Linked DNA regions of Homo sapiens: regions 2 and 3 are each linked to region 1. The links are contacts of gene promoters, found by promoter capture Hi-C in human tissues and cell types (Jung and others, 2019). All regions are on one chromosome and are shown on one strand. The core of a region is centred on a gene start or on the middle of the fragment in contact, and the rest is flanking DNA. Distances in the headings are between cores, read along the strand shown.

Region 1 (4,245 bases), core at 1,101-3,600:
TGATTATATCTGCAAAGACTCTGTTTCCAAACAAGGTCACCTTCATAGGTATCAAGGGTTGGGACTTCAACACATCTTTTTGAGGGACACAATTCAAACCCCAACTTGATCCCTTCTACTTTTCTGGATAGCGGTGAACAGATGAACTCTGGAAGATGACATTTGAATCCTAGCTCCACCACTTTCTACTTTCTACCTGTGTGTTCTTACAAAAGCCACCTACTCTCTTTGTGATTCTAGTTTTCCACTGGAAAACAGAAACTCTCTCATAGAGTTGCTGTGAAGGCTACACCAGTTAATATATGTAAGGCACTTGATACAGATCCTGTACGTAAGTGCTACGTAAGTATTAGCTATTATTATTGTTGTCATACCCACTTGTATCTACTTGCCCTATTTAGAATTGTTCTTCCTTGGGAGGCCGAGGTGGGCAGATCACGAGGTCAGGAGTTCGAGACCAGCCTGACCAACATGGTGAAACCCCATTTCTACTACAAATACAAAAATTAGCCAGGCTTGGTGGTGCGTGCCTGTAATCCCAGCCATTCGGGAAGCTGAGGCAGGAGAATCGCTTGAACCTGGGAGGCGGAGGATGCAGTGAACCGAGATTGCGCCACTGCACTCCAGCCGGGGGGACAGGGTGAGACTCCGTCTCAAAAAAAAAAAAAAATGGGTCTTCCCACATCCACTGCTTTCCCTTCCAATCTTTCCTCCGTATTGTAGCCTCAAGGATCTTGCAAATAACACAAATCTGGTCATGTCGCTGTCTTAAGACCCTCTTCTCACCTGCCTCAGTTTTCACACCAGGTCTACACTGCTTAAAGCTCTCCTCACCCTTCCAGCTCCTCCCAACCCTTCACCTTCACCGAGTTAATGTTTACTCATGTATCAGATTTCAGGTTAGACACGCTTCCTCCAAGAAGCTTTCGCAGATACACAAGTTAGTATCTGCCCGTACTTCTCTTACATAATACTCTCTATACTTGTTATTGTCATTTGTTTAGTTTTTATTTAGATTAACTTCCATCAGAAGGGCAGAGTAGCTGCTGTAACTTCAGTTACTATAAATGGGCCTGGCACATACTTTGCACTCAATAAATATCTTCTGAAGTAAATGAAATGAATCAATCTTGCTCCTGGGTTTACGTTTCAGTGATTCAAACGGGCATACTTGGTACACAACGTGAGGTCCTGGAAGGTATAACTTGTGTTTTCATTTTTGAATTTCTAAATTCTAGCAGAGTTTTTGGCACACTCTATGCACCCAATAAGCTATCTGAATAAACTTTTCTTGGAACATGAGTGTCTGAATGTCCTGATAACTCCAACACGTTCCCTTCCTGTAATTCCTAAAGCCCAGGAACACTTATTGCCTTCCATCAGTTAGTGAACTACTGATGCTCCAAAATGGGTCACGCCTCCTTCCCCTCCACACCCAACTCGTTTTGTTTTGTTTGTTTTGTTTTGTTAGACGGAGTCTCACTCTATTGCCCAGGCTGGAGTGCAATGGCGCAATCTCGGCTCACTGCAACCTCTGCCTCCCAGGTTTAAGTGATTCTCCTGCCTCAGCCTCCCGCCCGGCTAATTTTTGTATTTCCACCACCACGTCCGGCTAATCTTTGTATTTTTAGTAGAGACGGGGTTTTACCATGTTGGCCAGGCTGGTCCCAAACTCCTGACATCATGATCCGCCGGCCTCGGCCTGCCAAAGTGCTGGGATTACAGGCGGGAGCCACCGCGCCCGGCCCCACACCCCCAACTCTTAGCCCGAAACTCAGACCCCGGGTTTTCGACTATTAAAAGTAGTCACAGGACCGCGACACTGCACTTCAGCCTGGGCAAAAGAGCGAGACTCCCCCTCAAAAAAAAAAGTAGTCACAGAAAACTGAATTAAATTACTGACCTGAAGTAATCGCAAGCAGAGGCGTCCCTGACTGACTTCTATATCCCTCCACCCCAACCCCCTGGGCCCTGCACAGCGGGTGTCTGTTGAATATTCTCCCGGCTGTTGAGCCCAAACCTGATGAGAGGAAAGGCTCGGCTTCCACTCCAAGCCGAGCCTTCCGCTGTTCTTCTGTCCCGGCCCTTGGTGTCCCCTCACGCGGCCCCATTAGGTTACGCGCCCCCGGGGACTCCGCCGCCGCCCCAGCCCGCGCCCCGCGGTCCCACTCACTGTTCTTGAGGAATCGCTCCTCGTGCAGCACTGCGATGGCGTTGACGCAGAGCAGGGCTGCCTGCAGCAGTGAGTACAGGGTAAAGGCCATGGCCGTCCGAGGCCGCCCCGAAGTCCAAGCGATTTCTCTCCCGCCGCCGCAAGGGACGTGGCGCCTCCACGGCCGGCGCCTTCCTACGGAAGCCGATGGGGCCCAAAACGAACTCTCCGGGAAGCCCCGCCTCCATCTGGCTAAGAACCGCCCCTCGCTGAAGACTGCAAGTCCTGCCGCTTGTCTAGACCGGTGATGTGCAATCAATGCTCTGATGTGGCCAGTGCTGCAGGTGCAAAATACACACCGGATTTCACACACTTGGAACTGGAACAAGGATGAAGAATATCCCAATAATTTTTTTTTTTTTGAGATGGAGTCTGGCCCTGTCGCCCAAACTGGAGTGCAGTGGCACGATCTCGGCTCACTGCAAGCTCCGACTCCCGGGTTCACGCCATTCTCCTGCCTCAGCCTCCCAAGTAGCTGGGACTACAGGTGCCCGCCACCACGCCCGGCTAATTTTTTGTATTTTTAGTAGAGACGGGGTTTCACCGTGTTAGCCAGGATGGTCTCAATCTCCTGACCTCGTGATTCCCCCCTCCTCGGCCTCCCAATAATTTTTAAATGTTGATAACATGTTGAAATGAAAATATTTTGAGGCCGGGCGCAGTGGCTCACGCCTGTAATTCTAGCACTTTGGGAAACCGAGGCGGGCAAATCACCTAAGGTCAAGAGTTCGAGACCAGTCTGGCCAACATGGCAAAACCCTGTCTCTACTGAAAATACAAAAATTAGCTGGGTGTGATGGTGGGCTCCTGTAATCCCAGCTACTCAGGAGGCTGAGAGAAGAGAATCACTTGAACCCGGGAGGCAGAGACTGCAGTGAGCCGAGATCCAGCCTGGGTGACAGAGCAAGAGGAAAGAAGGAAGGAAGGGAGGAAGGTTTCTTGTTTATTTTTAATTATTTTATTTAATGTGGTTATGAAGATACTGTAAATGACATGTGACGCTTGCATTATATTTCTATTGCTCAGTACTGCACTTGATGCTCCCAGGAGATACAGGAGATACTAATATTCCCATTTCAGATTTCAGAATGCTAAAACAAAATAACTGTTTTAAAATTACTCAGTGAGAAACATCCCCTCCTTGACCAAACTCCAACCAAGATCCTCTGAGCCTCTTCTTTTTTTTTTTCCCCCCCCAGGAACAGGGTCTTGCTCTGTTGCCCAGGCTGGAGTGCAGTGGCACCATCATAGCTCAATGCAGCCTTCAGCTCCTGGCTCGAGCAGTCCTCCTGCCTTAGCCTCCTGCTTAGCTGTATGTGATGGTTAAGACTGAGTGTCAACTTGATTGGATTGAAGGATGCAAAGTATTGATCCTGGGTGTGTCTGTGAGGGTGTTGCCAAAGGAGATTAACATTTGAGTCAGTGGGCTGGGAAAGACAGGTCCACTCTTAATCCAAGTGGGCACCATCTAATCAGCTGCTGGAGTGGCCAGGATATAAAGCAGGCAAAAAACCAATGAAAAGGGTATGCCAAGACCAGCTCGGTTGGGGAGACCCTAACCCAGCGGTGCTAGAGGAATTAAAGACACACACAGAGGTGTGAAGTGGGAAATCAGGGGTCTTATAGCCTTCAGAGCTGAGATCCCCGAACAAAGATTTACCCACGTATTTATTAACAGCAAACCAGTCATTAGCATTGTTTCTATAGATGTTAAATTAACTAAAAGTATCCCTTATGGGAAATGAAGGGATGGGCCGAATTAATTGCAGCAGGAACACATCCTTAAGACACAGATCTCTCAGGCTTTTGTTTGTGGCTTAAGAATGCCTTTAAGCAGTTTTCCAACCTGGGTGGGCCAGGTATTCCTTGCCCTCATTCCCGTAAACCCACAACCTTCCAGCTTGGGCGTTAGGGCCATTATGGACATGTTATAGTGCTGCAGAGATTTTATTTATGGCCAGTTTTGGGGCTAGTTTATGGCCAGACTGTTGGGGGCTTGCTCTCAACAAGGGTAGACTGGCTTAGCCTCCCAG
Region 2 (4,354 bases), core at 238-2,737, 640 kb after region 1:
AGTCTCCGGTATCTCTTTATTAGCCGCGTGAGATCAGACTAATACAGCTGGGGAGGCCTCAGGAAACTTACAATTATGGCAGAAGGGGAAGCAGGCACCTTCTTCACAAGGTGGCAGAAGAGAGTGTGAGTGTGTGAAAGTACAGGAAAAACTACCATTTATAAAACCATCAGATCCTGTGAGAATTCACTATCATGAGAACAGCATGGGAGAACCACCCCCATAATACAATTACTTCCTTCCCTCAACATGTAGGGATTACAATTCAAGATGAGATTTGGGTGGGGATGGAGACCCAAACCATATCAGAGCTCATAACTTAAGTGGTGGTAATCAAATCTAAAGCACATTTTATAGCACACACACTCGCTATTCCAAGGTTCCTTTCATGAGTGTCCATGTCACTGTCTCCCCAGGACCCCCACAGGAGCCTTGCACAGGTATCTCATGAACATCCAAGTACCACTTCTTGTAGGAAGCAGGGGTAACTTTCAATAGGGGTGGTTAAGGAAGACTCTGCAGAGAGGATGGAATTTAAACTGGGTTCTGGCCAGGCAGGGTGACTCACACCTGTAATCCCAGCAGTTTGGGAGACCAAGGCAGGTGGATCACCTGAGGTCAGGAGTTTGAGACCAGCCTGGCCAACATAGTGAAACCCTGTCTCTACCAAAAATACAAAAATTAGCCAGGTGTGGTGGCGGGCACCTGCAATCCCAGCTACTCAAGAGGCTGAGGCAGAAGAATTGCTTGAATCCAGGAGGCAGAGGTTGCAGTGAGTCAAGACTGTGCCATTGCACTCCAGCCTGAGTGATGAAACTTGGTCTCAAAAATAACTAAATAACTAAATAAAATAAACTGGGTCCTTATTTTTAGAAAAGGATCTCACTTTGTCATCCAGGCTAGAGTGCAGTAGCACAAACATGGCTCATGAAGCCTCGACTTCCTGGGCTCAAGCAATCCTCCCACCTCAGCCTCTCAAGTAGCTGGGACTACAGGTGCCTGCCACCATGCCCAGCTAATTTTTTTTTTTTTTTTTTTTGAGATGGAGTCTTGCAATGTCACCCAGGCTGGAGTGCAGTGGCGCAATCTCGGCTCACTGCAACCTCTGCCTCCCGGGTTCATGCGATTCTCCTGCCTCAGCCTCCCGAGTAGCTGGGATTACAGGCACACACCACCACACCCGGCTAATTTTCTGCATTTTTAGTACAGATGGGGTTTCACTATGTTGGCCAGACTGGTCTCAAACTCGTGACCTCATGATCCACCTGCCTCGGCCTCCCAAAGTGCTGGGATTACAGGCATGAGCCACTGTACCCGGCCCCACAATTTTTTTTTTTTTTTTTTTTTGGAGAGATGGGATCTTGCTATGTTGATCAGGCTGGAAACCTGGGTCTTGAATAATGGATACATTTGGAAGTGCAGAGCAAAGGCCAGAGAGATATCCAAGCCAGAGAGATATCCAAGGCAGAACAAAGCTCATAATTTAACAAGAAAGGTAGGCATAGATAGGCCTAATTATGATGAATGCTCTCTTACCAGTATAAACAAATTACAAAGGGAGTGATGAGAAGAGGCAATGAAGTTTGGGGAGGGAAAGAAAAGTCTGTGGTGGAGGTGATAACCTGAACTTGGCTTTGAGGAATAAAGAGTTTTATATCAGGGCATCAAGAGAAGGATATTCAAGGTACTTAGGACCAGAACAGGCAAAGGCACTGAAGCAAGAGAGTCTGGGGCAAGAATGTCTCTATTGGGTCAAGACTTTGACAATATTAAAGATTCCATTTTCTTCATATATGCCCCCCTGCTGTCTTTCCAATAAAGGTAAGCCCTGAAGCCTGACAGTCACAGGAAAGGAGAGGGTGTGTACTAGAGTAACAGCACAGTTGCTACTCAGCTGTGAATCTCAGAGCCTGCCTTTATTATCTTGATTATTCTTTGGCATCTCTAGGAAGATGATAAGTAGTCTTCAAAGTCAGACTTTACTGAGAATGAGAAGGGAGTTCTACATGCTAAGAGCTCCATTCACATACTAAAAGCAAAGCTTGGACAACTGAACATGAGTTTTACTCCTAACCATGGATAAGAGAAACTGAGAATACGATGTGAGAAGAGTCTCTTCATTAGGCAGGAGTGGAATGACTCCCAGGGCAGGGAGAGATTGATTGAGATTGCAATTGCCCTGTTGGGAAATAAACGGAAACTTCAGGATGGGTATGCGAGTCTTGGAGCAGCAGGGTTAGTCAACTACTTTCCTGGCATAGCCTGGGGAAGACTGCAAGCCACTCAAAAAAGTCCTACTCATGACTTAGAGGCTTACCCAGTATGGCACAGGAGCACTAGCTCAGCATTGGTGGAAGGAGGTGTCTAGTCAGTCTGAGAAAATGTTGGCTTCCCAAAGCTTGAGCAAGATGTTCAGTACATCCCAAAGTTCCAACATCATCCCTTCCCACCCACTCCAAAGCCCAGCAGATTAACAGTCCCATAGTTGGGACATGGAAGCTATTAAGGTAGAGACCTTGAGACCAAAGGCAATGACAGAGTTGTGGTCAGGAGCAGGGCATGACAGCAGTGAACAAAAGCCAGGGACCCACTTACATTACCCAGTAGACTCAGTGACATCCAGCAAAGATGGCAGGATGAGCACCAGCAGCAGGACCGTCAAGGACCTCAGCACATACATTAGAGAAACTCTTTCCTGTGTCACCTGGAGATGACTGTTCTCACCCACTAGATGCCATCATGAGGAAGAAGCTAGGAAGAACCTTTGAAAAGCTGAGCATTTATCCAAAGAGATGGTTTTAAGCCTGAGATAGGCTATTTGAATCGAAAGAGAACGTTATCTTTGATTGGCAAGTTTAAGGCCATCCACCTCGTCCCACACCTTCCCAAAACCAGATGGGATGCATGAGAAATTGATGTGAAATGAAGGAACTGTAACTTCTTTTCTGCATGATCTGAGTTTTAATGTGTGGGAGCTGGGAAGAGGGAAGAACATTGATAGAAAATCTGAAAGCCCACAGGGAATGTGGTCTAAAGCAGAGGTTTAAGTCCTGGCTGATAATCATTTTGGGTTTTCTGAAAATGCAGATCCCAGTGCTCCAATTCCAGACCTGCTAAAGCAGAATCTCACAATTGAGGCCAGGGAACCTACATTTTAGAAGCTCTCCTTCTGACTCCAATTTGGAAACCATTTATTTAACCACTAGTACAAAAACTGGCCTTGAATAAGACATCACTTCCTCCAAGTCTGAGTACAGCACGCAAGGGCAACTGCAGCAAATGGAGGGGTGATTTAGTAAGGAGGGGGTGAAACCGAAAATCAACAAGGTTTGTGTGAACTGGTCTCGACACACTTGGCTGTGAATAGCAGGGATAGAAAGTAGTTATGGGGCTTGCAAGGACATTGTCTTAATTTTCCTGTTGTCTTAACAGAGGATTTACTGAGCCCATGTATGCTGTAGGAAAAAGCTAGTGGTGCCAGAGTTTAAGTTTTCAGAGGAGGAATAATTGACCTATGTATGAGTTCTAGAGAAGCCTTGCAGACTTACCCAGGGCTCAGAGCACATGGCTTAGTCCTGACATAAAATACCATTTTTCCTCTACCACTTGGCTAAGAAGCTGAGGAGGAACTGGCAGTGAGGGAGGAGGTTGAGAATGAAAGTTCTGGAGAGTCACCTAAGAGACGGTAAACACATACCTCATGTCTTGGCTTCTAGAGCCCGGAGATAAGATCAGCTTCCCTTGAAAATGTTAGCTCCCATGCCACATTTAGTCAAGACAACAATAACAAAAGGCTTTCTTCAGGGAGGGCAGTGGAAGTGAGTTTGAGATAAAAAGGAATTTATTTATTTGCACCTATGTATTGTTCAGAAGTTTTAGGTCTTATGAAAAAAAGATTTTTATAAATTATACACAATTGGGTAGCTTTAAAAAATACCAAAATATACAGTGGTCACCCTAAAACTAACATTTTTGGATAATACACTTATAAATTGGAAAATGAGAAAAGATAGTCTGGTATAACTGCCTGAACAACTTATTAAGAACATTAACAAGTAATAACACATATTTTAATGTAATATTGCTGACTAATTTGGCACATTTAATACACGTCCAATATATTTTCTATGTACTGTGAAAGCTTTTGGGAAAATAAAGCAGCTTGTGTTACAAAAACTGCAACCTTTCACAAAGGTTACCCACAAAATACTTTTGCCTAGCCACTGCCTGTCCAACTTCAGAGTGGCACCACCCTTGCTATTGATCTTTGTAACCAACGACAATTATTTCAAAACAATTATACAACCCTCATTTTTCTTTAAAATCTTTGTCTTCCTTTACTTCCCTGAATACA
Region 3 (3,924 bases), core at 547-3,046, 720 kb after region 1:
CAAGCATACTTCTTTTATAACATCTACCAAGCCTCATGAAACCATCTTTTTCTAAGTTTATCTCCCTTACTAGGAAGTAAGTAGTTTAAAAGCAAACACTGTATCTTAACTCCAGTGAGGAAGAGCACACCAGGCACATAGTGGGCATATGATAAATGGTTACCTAATTGAAATCCCAAGCACTACACAATGAAGAATGAAATATAGCTTGACTTCTCAGCCCATTCACCAGGAAGTCCTCAGTTCCACTTCTAAAACCCATGCCAAATCTGTTTACTTCGTGTGCTAGCACAGCCACCACGCCAGTCCAGCCTCTATCGTCTTGCATTTAGATTCCTCACAGCCTCCTAATTTTCCTGCTTCCATCTACCCTACTACACACATACCACTCTCCCGCAGCCAGAAAAATCTTTGTAAAAATATGTAAGATCCTCTTTAAAATCCATCAGAATAAACTTACTTGCATCCTGTTATATTCAGACTAACATTCAAACTCTCACCACACTCTAGGATGCCCTGTATAAGCTTTGGGCAAGTCTTGTCCTCCATCTACACTGGGCTCCTTTTAAATATTCTAATACAAGAAGCTCACCTCAGTGTCTTCACTCTGGCTCTTCCCTCTGCCTAGAAGACTCTTCCCTCAGTTGGCTGCTGCTTCTCCAAGCTCCACGCAAGCATCACAATCCGACCCAAAGCAGCTTTTTAATTCTTCATTCTATCATATCACTGCATTTGGTTGTCTTCTTTGCACTCATTACCATATCAAATTATAATTAATTTGTTTACTTGTTTATCGTGTATTTCTATCCCTTAGGAAGGCAGGAGTTTTGTGTTTTGTTAATCACTGTTATCCTCATATGTCTAGAAACAGTGCCTTCTACATAGCAAACACTCAATAAGCATTTGTAAAACAAATCAACAAACCAAAAAAGCAACCTTTAAGATATACATAAAACAAGTAAGGGAAAGAAATGGATGGTCTACCAAACAAGGCAAGAAACATTCTACTGTTAGTATTTGCAACTAGACAGGCTGCACTGGTGTTATTGGGATCTGTTATCTATAAGCATCAAAAGTGTACTTCTCAAAGTTCAAAGTCAAGTAGAATGGTTTCACATGCTATATGCTAGCCCACGGTATGACACTGCAAACTATCATTTTAGAGAATTCTTACATTTAACAATCTCCCCAAAATCTGTAATGTACACAAGTAGTAAAACACACTTTAAAACACCTGTCACTTAATTAAAAAACAATACTTATGACAGTGGTACTTATCTGTAAATGATTAAATTTATCCTCAGAAAACTTCAGACTTTTAAAGTAACAGGTCCTCCTAACCTAAGAGGCAGGTCTTTAAGACAGGTTCTGACTAATGCCTACAACAATTAAGAAGCCACCTAACACACTATTCTTTCTTGGAAGCAATGCTGCAACGCAAAGAAAAACCATATAAAATTCATTAAAAAGTGAGCAGCCTCTTTTCACCCCTGATGAAAGTTTTGACTAAAGGAGGAGAAAACTGTAGGTTGCTACTATGTTAGTGATAGAAAAAGCTTCAATTCTTTATTCAAGTATCATTCAATCACGGAAATGAGGATAACATACAAATGTAGGCAATGAAGATAATAAATCTAAGTATCTTATTTAGCTTGATTAAACCTCACTATTCAAGAAAATAATTTATAAAACAAGTCAGCTAGCAAAAACAATTTATACAAGGTTAAAAACAGTCATATTTCAATCATCACTTTTTACAGGCAACTTGAAAGGAACACAAATTCAGTAACTTTCCTTCAGATTCCTTGACATAATTTGATCAAACCTGGGATCTAACAAAACTTACCTTGGTATGGTAACACATTTAGTATTACAGTTTTGAGTGGTGATGGCTTTCTCAAGCTCATCTAATCGTCCTGTTTTCTTTAGCTTCTTCACCAGACTTTTCACTGCTTTCTCACACCACTTTTCTTCCTGCCCATTCTGCTCTCCTCCGCCTGCTCCTCCAGACCCACCAGCTGACTTCTTCCATCCCAGCAGTCTCTTCACAACTGGCGGCGTGAATGGCAAGATGGACGACATGTTCTTACCAAAGGCAGCAAGCCACGCTAGGAAAACAGCCTCTTGTATCGAACCTAGCAGAAATATTGAAAGGATGATGTAGAGACTACCTTGAACATCAAGTAATAATTTCAACTTATCATAGAAAGCAAACTGCAAAGCAAGATAGAAATTCGAATTATGACTTTCCCAATAGACTTCTCCACCCATGAAAACGTTATCTTTATGAATTTAAATGAATGATGGAAACAAACCCTTCTAAAAACAAGAATGTTGTAAGGACTCCTCTTGTGGGAAAATACAGTAATTTTGCAAGTAAAATCAGATACTTTTAACGATTTTTCACCACCAATACTATTTTAAACTCTTAGTAGTGTCAATTAAAATATTTTCACAAAAGGTTCTCTTACTTTTTAGAACTTCACTCTAATCTCAAAAGACTATACAAAAATACATTGAAAATTTGTAAGCCCACTCTCCCCCGGGTTTTAAACTTTCATAACTAATAGGAGGCAAAATCTACAGTTACAAGAAGGGAAAATGCGTAAAGTGTGAAGTAATCAAGAATAAAGAAATAAACATGGCAAACAGAGTCCGTGGAGAAAAGCTGTAGTCCGGTTTCACCTGCTCTTGAGAGAAATTTTTTAACACATGTTTTTTTCATTTTCATCTAAATAACAATTTGCATAGTGAGTAAAGTCAGATAGTTTCTCTTCCCAATTTAAGGAATTGTACCTTGTCTTTTCTCTTCCATAGGAATCATTTTTATTAAGCTGTTTTGTCTATTCAGCGTCATTTTACAAATATAAACATGTATACATACAACTAACCACATTCCCACCTTATTGCTGTACAAAAGTAGCATAATATTCCTTATTTTGTATATCTTGAAATTATTTTTTTATTTTTATTTTTTTGCTTAATTCCCTGTAGGTCATTCCTTATCAGTTCACACAGAATTTAGAAAGCACTGTCCCCTCAATTTTCTAGACTCCACTACTGATACTGGTAAGTCCCACATAACTTTTATTCCTGATCCTTTAATTGGGGTTTAAAAATTGTTTCGCTCCAGAAGCTCTTAATATCTTAGCTCTTACGCTTTTCTTTCCTTTGCCTTCAATTTTAGTGAGATATAGGAAAAAGGAAAATGAATGTGTTCAATTTGCCATATTTAATAAAGTTCCCAAAAGGCATCCTTTTTAGAAAGTAAAGAGGTCTGTAGTCTTTACATCACACACCCCAAATACTGAAATTGTAGTTTTCAAAGTGTATCTTTAAGAAAACAATGATGCTTACATTTTCATTAGTTTGTTCCTTAATTATCATAATGATCAGACAATAGTTTTTAAACGTAGAGGAGGAAGTACAAGTTAAAATAATAATAAGGCATCATTTCATGCCCAATCTAGCTGGCAAAAATTGAATTAATTAAAATACCTACTGCTGGAGAAGATGTGAAGAAATTGTTATCATTCCACATTGCTGGTGAAAAGGTCAAATGTGACAGCTTTATTCTAAGTAATCTGGCAATGTGCCACGTGTTACAACTAGTAACTGGATTATACGTGTATAAACAAAAATCTAGGATATTAATATGGGTTGCAGATATACCAATATGCAGAAAAGGGGGTGAAAAGATGAAAAAGGCTGAATGATATGGCCATTGTGTATGTTTTTGTGTATGTGTGTACAAAAAACTGGATAAAACATTTTTAAAGGAAAAAAACAGTTTTTAAGCACACTTTGCACATATTCTTAACGTTAAAGAAGATCCTAACACAAGATGCAAATTTATTTCCCATCAAAGAACATGGCTAATTTTCATAGATTATATGCTAAGATTCATTTCCAATGTACACAAAC

Evidence for each region. The method cuts DNA at HindIII sites, captures the fragments that hold promoters and counts their contacts. A contact is called where the count stands out against the background at its distance.
Region 2: a fragment that was not itself captured here is called in contact with the fragment with the promoter of IER3IP1 in region 1 in 1 of the 25 tissues and cell types used here (lymphoblastoid cells).
Region 3: a fragment that was not itself captured here is called in contact with the fragment with the promoter of IER3IP1 in region 1 in 1 of the 25 tissues and cell types used here (lymphoblastoid cells).

Annotation. Positions count from the first base shown.
Region 1 is chr18:47,174,014-47,178,258 of GRCh38, forward strand. IER3IP1 (immediate early response 3 interacting protein 1) reads right to left here and starts at 2,351. Exons shown (of 3, transcript NM_016097.5): 1 at 2,174-2,351. The coding sequence starts at 2,264. RefSeq lists enhancers at 2,260-2,379, 2,390-2,519. The HindIII fragment of the contact is 11,428 bases long and covers 1-4,245 here.
Region 2 is chr18:47,812,386-47,816,739 of GRCh38, forward strand. SMAD2 (SMAD family member 2) reads right to left here. Exons shown (of 11, transcript NM_005901.6): 11 at 1-4,354. Among named protein-coding and RNA genes, the nearest start is that of SMAD2, 120 kb to the right of the region's middle. The HindIII fragment of the contact is 3,563 bases long and covers 1-3,269 here.
Region 3 is chr18:47,894,675-47,898,598 of GRCh38, forward strand. It overlaps SMAD2 (SMAD family member 2), which reads right to left. Exons shown (of 11, transcript NM_005901.6): 2 at 1,847-2,135. The coding sequence starts at 2,082. Among named protein-coding and RNA genes, the nearest start is that of SMAD2, 34 kb to the right of the region's middle. RefSeq lists a silencer at 1,071-1,271. The HindIII fragment of the contact is 3,988 bases long and covers 1-3,790 here.